Regions from separate parts of the Homo sapiens genome. Here region 2 is linked to region 1. The links are contacts of gene promoters, found by promoter capture Hi-C in blood cells and fetal thymus (Javierre and others, 2016). All regions are on one chromosome and are shown on one strand. Each heading gives the region's core, a stretch centred on a gene start or on the middle of the fragment in contact. The rest is flanking DNA. Distances are from core to core; before and after follow the strand shown.

What was found. The method cuts DNA at HindIII sites, captures the fragments that hold promoters and counts their contacts. A CHiCAGO score of 5 or more calls a contact.
Region 2: a contact is called between a fragment that was not itself captured here and the fragment with the promoter of MTOR-AS1 in region 1, in 1 of 17 cell types (endothelial precursors). The highest score is 5.1, in endothelial precursors.

What each region holds. Positions count from the first base shown.
Region 1 is chr1:11,142,280-11,145,616 of GRCh38, forward strand. MTOR-AS1 (MTOR antisense RNA 1) reads left to right here and starts at 1,619. Exons shown (of 4, transcript NR_046600.1): 1 at 1,619-1,708; 2 at 2,388-2,607; 3 at 2,874-3,000. It overlaps MTOR (mechanistic target of rapamycin kinase), which reads right to left. Exons shown (of 58, transcript NM_004958.4): 33 at 2,689-2,766; 34 at 2,369-2,476. The HindIII fragment of the contact is 11,786 bases long and covers 1-1,742 here.
Region 2 is chr1:11,218,153-11,221,489 of GRCh38, forward strand. All of the region lies in intron 19 of MTOR (mechanistic target of rapamycin kinase), which reads right to left. Among named protein-coding and RNA genes, the nearest start is that of ANGPTL7, 30 kb to the left of the region's middle. The HindIII fragment of the contact is 2,052 bases long and covers 456-2,507 here.

The DNA of each region.
Region 1 (3,337 bases), core at 369-2,868:
GAAGCAGGCAGAACTCCTTTTTTTTTGGAGATGGAGTATCATTCTGTCCCTCAGGCTGGAGTGCAGTGGCGCAATCTTGGCTCACTGCAACCTCTGCCTCCCAGGTCCAAGCGATTCTCCTGCCTCAGCCTCCCAAGGAGCTGGGATTACAGGTGTGCGCCACCACGCCTGGCTAATTTTTGTATTTTTTTCTTTTAGCAGAGAGGGGGTTTCTCTATGTTGGCCAGGCTAAGTCTCAAACTCCTGACCTCAAGCAATCCACCTGCCTCAGCCTCCCAAAGTGCTGGGATTACAGGTGTGAGCCACCATGCCTGGCCAAGTGAACTCCTTTTTCATCCTTGTTGATAAGAAGTCAGACTCAGAAGGGGAGTTCCTGAGATCTACTGCTTCATGGTAAATTCCATGAACCCATGGAGCTGTCCTCCATGGAGATAAACTTAAAAGTCTAGCGACAATGATCTCAGGCTTTTAGCTATGATAAGATGCAGTCTGAGCCTGACTGGAGAACCCAAGGCTAGAAGAGACCCAGCGCCAGTAAGGCTGACCTCTCTAACTGCCCTATGGGAGGGTCTTAGGAACCAAAAGCATTGGTGCAACTCCAAAGAAAAGTAACAAACATGTATTTTTCCACTACTATAATACTGGTTGGGGATTTTAATTTAAATGATTTGACCACAAAATGGCAGTTTTCTAGCCCCAGCAGTTCATTTGACAGCAAGCCATCCACAAGAGCCAAATTTCCACTATAAATGTAATGCTTTACTTTCAGGCCTTGGACCACATTTTTCCATCCCATGAAGTGTGACAACAATGATTTCGAAAGTTAAAATAACAGAAAAAAGTACACTGAGTGATTGTTTTTTGTGACTTCTCACCAATAGTTAGGTTCTCCCAGATGCTGAAATAATTTGGCCTCCTGTAAGCCAAAAAGCATCTTGCTGCCTCAAGATAGGAAAGTCACGAAGGCTTAAGGTGGTGGCAGTGTCCTGGACCCAGTAAAGTCAGACAGGCATCTCTCTTCCCAGGACTCATTCCATGCCTCCCCTCTCCTCTAAGTCTACATTTGGATCAAGTCCCACTTGTCAGACTGTCAGAAGGTTCATCAGATCTCTGCTGTAGAAACTCTTTATTATAGGCATTTCAAAGAATTGGGGTGTGTACAAATCAAGTGGGAAATGCTTATTTGTGGAATTCTTTCTGGTGCCCAGGAGACAATTTTCCATCAAAACATTCACTGGGCATTTCATAATTACTAATAAAACATGTAAAAGAACTGTATGTGCTCATTTCAGAGCCATAAATGACTGTATTCATAGATGTTCCTTTGCCCATTGCTCTTTCCTGTCCAGGGGAATGTGCCCTGAGCTTCCTAGGCAGGAATGTGTTTGGAGTCAAAAGGTTTTGTCGCAGCCTACTGAGACGCCTGGAAGCACAAACTTCGATTGGTCTGAAGCGAGAATTTGGAATTAGCAATTAGGTGGGGATCTAGTTGAGAGGAAATGGTTTATAATTGCGGGGATGGATTATGATAGGTAGGGAGACAAATGGTTTCTGGAGTGGTAAAGGCTTTCTCTCTTTTTTCTTTTGCTGATGAACTTCCTATCCTACCCACTCAAGGAATGGGATAACTGGCCATCCTTCCCAGAACATTTAGACTCCTGACTCCCAGACCTGGAGTGACAGTTTCTCATGTTAAAATGATCAGAATGTGAGAATGAAAACACTGATGGAGGACTTGGGAAAGCTTCTTCTCTACAAGCGGAAACTGCAGTGGAAAAAAAGTCTCAATAGAGGCGACAGGATGACTCTGACCTAAGTAGCTATAAATAGCAGGAGTTGGCCAATGAGAACCTAAGGCAACCCCATCTGAAAAGCTGGTGCAGGTGGCCTCCAAGTGTAGTTAGAGCAGTGGTTCTTAGCTTTGGCTGGTGGAATCATCTGGGGGAACCTGAAAAGATACTGATCCTGAGTCTCTCCCCAGAAATTTAATTGGCCTGGGGAATAGCCTGGGCATCAGGATTTTAAAAAGCTCTGCAGGTGATTCTACTGTGCTGCTAAGGTTGAGAACCACTGATTTTGAGGTTATGATTCCTAACTGACTGGTCACAGGTGTCACTTACTAAAAAACATTTTTTTTAATTCCTAGAGAAGAGAATAAGAAGAGACTGGAAAATTGGTCATTCTCTCACAGCTTAAGTTTAGGTGAGGAGCCTTTGAGTATTCTGCTTTGTATGCAAGCCAAGCAATACACTGGTGGAGGAGGCAGGAAAAGCAAGTTGAGTAAGAGCCAGGGTGGAGGGGGGCACTCACCCAGGTCCTGGAAGGGGTAGGGGTAGGTGGGTGAACTGGGGCTTTCTACCAAGCTCACCTGCAGTCTCTCCCACCAGATCTGGCGGATGATCTCTCGTCGCTCGGGGACAAGTTTGTACTGGATAACCTCCTCCAGCTCGGACAGCATGTGGCAAGAAACCATGGCCTGATGGAAGCAAATCGCATTCCAAACTAATTACTGCACGAACAATCCAAAAGACAGGATTAATTTAAATCATTCCTTCTGGTGTCAGGGTATCTGCCGATCAGAGAAAACAGGCATGTTTCCAGCAGCCTGTAAGTTCTCAATAGCCCATTCTGAAAAAAGTATGGAAATAAGCCTCAAAAATGACAATGTGCAGAATAGTTGACACTTACCCCATATGCCCGACTGTAACTCTCTCCTGCCATCGCAGTTAATTCAGCATCCAGCAGGTCCCTGGCCTTGTCAATGCACTAGAAGAGAAACAACCCTTGGGACTGAGCTCTGGACTTGGGAGCTTAGGGTTATTTTAGGGCACCCCAACTAGCTACAGAAGTTATCTGTCTCACTTAAATTCCAGGGATGAAAAGAGAAATTCGCTGAAGAAGGGCATTTTCCCAGAACTGAATGGCTTGAGAGGAGGTATTATCCAATTTCTCATCGAAGACAGAAATGTATGGCATCCAAAACTTTAACATCTATCTAAGGTAACACACAAAATCTTAGGTGGCAAGGGCATGGGAATGTGGGCTGTAAAACCGAATCATGGGTTCTTGCATCTCAAGAGGACATAACTGGGGATCTACCTTTTTTTTTTCTTCTGAGACACAGTCTCACTCTGTCACCCAGGCTGGAGTGCAGTGGTGTGATCTTGGCTCACTGCAGTCTCCACCTCCCGGGTTCAAGTGATTCTCTTGCCTCAGCCTCCCAAGTAGCTGGGATGCTGGGGTTACAGGCGCCCGCCACCACGCCCAGCTAATTTTTGTATTTTTAGTAGAGATAGGGTTTCTCCATGTTGGTTCAAGCGATTCTCTTGCCTCAGCC
Region 2 (3,337 bases), core at 232-2,731, 76 kb after region 1:
CGGGCGCGGTGGTTCACGCCTGTAATCCCAGCACTTTGGGAGGCTGAGGCGGGCAGATCACAAGGTCAAGAGTTTGAGATCAGCCTGGCCAACATGGTGAAACCCCATCTCTACTAAAAATACAAAATTTAGCTGGGCATGGTGGCATGTGCCTGTAATCCCAGCTACTCGGGAGGCTGAGGCAGGAGAATTGCTTGAAACCGGAAGGCGGAGGTTGCAGTGAGCTAAGGTCACACCATTGTACTCCAACCTGGGCGACAGGGCGAGACTCCATCTCAAAAAAAAAAAAATGTTATTACAAAGATCAAGGAAAATGAGACTAAATATAAAGGTTCTTCAGGCAAATTTTTATTATGCAAAGCCTGAAAGAAAGTAGAAAACCTAAGCTGGAGGAAAACAGGCCTACAGCGATGGCGGGGAGGTCAGAGAAAACTGAGAGACAGAAAGAGGAAACAAGCTTCCTGGTCCTTGGTGCCATTTTATTAGGCATGATTAGGGAGCATTTCCGTGGCTTATTCATAAGGAGTAGCTGCCCAAGGGACATGGACAGGCAAGCACCTCAATGCTGAGTAGAGAGCTAGAGGAGCTGCCTCTTCTTCCTTAGCCTTTCACATGTGTTCTCTTTTTGCTCGGAACATGAGTATTTTAAAAGAACACAGTTTTGCTCCTGAAAATATGATGCACTAGATCTCCTTCCAAACTCCCCCACTATGAAAAGCCTAAAATTAAGTACAAAAATATAAACATGATTATAAGATTATTAGAACTGAAGTGGCCAGGCGCAGTGGCTCACGCCTGTAATCCCAGCACTTTGGGAGGCCAAGGTAGGCAGATCACCCCGAGCTCAGAAGTTTAAGACCAGCCTGAGCAACATGGCAAAACCTTGTCTCTACCAGAAGTACAAAAAAATATATTAGCTGGGCATAGTGGCATGTGTCTGTAGTCCCAGTTACTTGGAAGGTTGAGGTGGGAGGATCACTTCAGCCTCAGAGGTGAGGTTACAGTGAGCTGAGATCATGTCACTGCGCTCCAGCCTGGGCAACAAAGTGAGACCCTGTTTCAAAAAAAAAAAAAGAACTAAAGCCTCTCACATAAAGCCAGACTTTCAAAGAGCTACATATTAAGAGAAATGGTGAGTTAAAAAAAAAAAATCTGTCCACTGGTAAAAGGAGATAAAGAAATTTGCCAGTTGTGATGTGGGGTCTAGGCAGAAAAATGCCTCCCCTAAGAGTTCATAATTTCAGGCATCTATTGTACAGGTTTAGGGATTTATTTTCACTAACTGTGTGGCCTGGGAATCTCTAAGCCAAGAAATTAAAGTTCTCATGGACCACCTGGCAGAAGTAAATGCACATCCTCTCTGGAAAGATGCAAATTTAGAGCAGATTTTCTAGTATTGCTCCAGGGAAAGCCCAGTTGAATATGCTATATGATTCGAAATTATAAAACACGTGAGGAAACAGACCACTACAAGCATGACTTCTCAGAAACAATATACACAATCAGACCCACTAAGAGTTTTATATATAATAGAAGTATTCGACAGAAAATTTAGTCTGTTTAAAATGCCTTAAAAAAAGTGGGAATAAGGCTGGGCACGGTGGCTCATGCCTATAATTCCAGCACTTTGGAAGGCTGAGGCGGGTGGATTGCTTGAGGACAGGAGTTCAAGACCAGCCTGGGCAACATGGTAAAACCCTGTCTCTATTGAAAATGCAAAAAACAAAAAAAATTAGCCAGCATGGTGGTGCACGCCTGTAGTTCCAGCTACTCAGGAGGCTGAGGCATGAGGATCACTCGAACATGGAAGGTGGAGGTTGCAGTTAACCGAGATCGTACCACTGCATTCCGGCCTGGCAGCAGAGTGAGACTTGATCTCAAAAAAAAAAAAAAGAAAAGAAAAGAAAAGAAAGAAAAAAAAAATAGAAGGGTATAAGGACAAAATTCCAAAAAAGATAATAGATGAGAATTTCTCAGGAACTGATAAGATACCAATCCTCACATTCAGGAAGCCCTCCAAGTCTCAAACAGGATAATCAAAAGAAATTCACATCTAGATATATAATAGTAAACACTTCAGGATAACAAAACAATGAGAAGTAAAGCCACAGAAAAAATATGTAAAAGGGATTCACGATTTCTCAACGGCAACAAAAAGAAGTCAGAAAGTGGGATCGTATCTACAGTTGTAGGAGAACCTAGAATAATATTCTTGGCTAAAAAAATAAATTTTTTAATTTAATTTTTAAATCTCCAAATGAAGATTTAAAAAGAGGGTGAAATAAAGACTTATTCAGATAAGAGCAGTTTATTTCAATGAATGCTCCTAAGAGGAATTTGTCCTATGAAGAAAGAATATGATTCTAGGAGAAAGCTCTAATATGGAAGACAGGGTGATGAGACATGAAATATGTGTGGATGAATATAAACAAACACGACATAAAACGACAATAATGTTTAATAAGATGGAGGAAGGGGGCCTAGGAACGCAGGCACCCTCTAAAACAAGCTTGTCCAACTCCTCGTGCTCTAGAAGCTAGAAAAAGCAAGGAAAACAATTCTCCCCTAGAGCTTCCAGATGGGAACACAGTCCTGTCAACATCTTGATTTTAGCCCAGTGAGACCTCATGTCAGAAATATAACCTAGAGAGCTGTAAGATAAGAAATCTGTGTTAAGCCACTAAATTTGTGGTAATCTGTTATAGCAGCAATAGGAAATAATAAAGGAAGGAAGAAAACGAGGTATAAAGATGGTGACAGAAGCTAGACGTTGCTAGATAAGATTTTATTTATAGTTCTAGCTCTGGAACTATGTTAATGTCTTATATAACTAAAACAAAAGTTAATTTTTTTTTTTTTGGAGATGGAGTCTTCCTCTGTCGCCCAGGCTGAAGTGCAGTGGTCCAATCTTGGCTCACTGCAACCTCTGTCTCCCGGGTTCAAGAAATTCTCCTGCCTCAGTCTCCTGAGTAGCTGAGACTACAGGCATGCACCACCATGCCCGGCTAATCTTTGTATTTTTAGTAGAGACGGGGTTTCGTCATGTTGGCCAGGCTGGTCTCAAACTCCTGACTTTGAGTGATCCACCTGCCTCGGCCTCCCAAAGTGTTGGGGTTACAGATGTGAGCCACCACGCTCAGCCTAAATTTTTTGTAAACTCAAGGAAATTTCTAAAAATTGAAAATAAACAGAAACAAATGAGTATAACTATAAGCCAAGTTGGCTGCACAATCACTCAAGAAGAATATCAACTGAAAGTCTTAAACTACATTTAGTCATCTTATTGTTAATACTAACATTGGTCATTTTCTATTTACATCTATAAAATATATATATA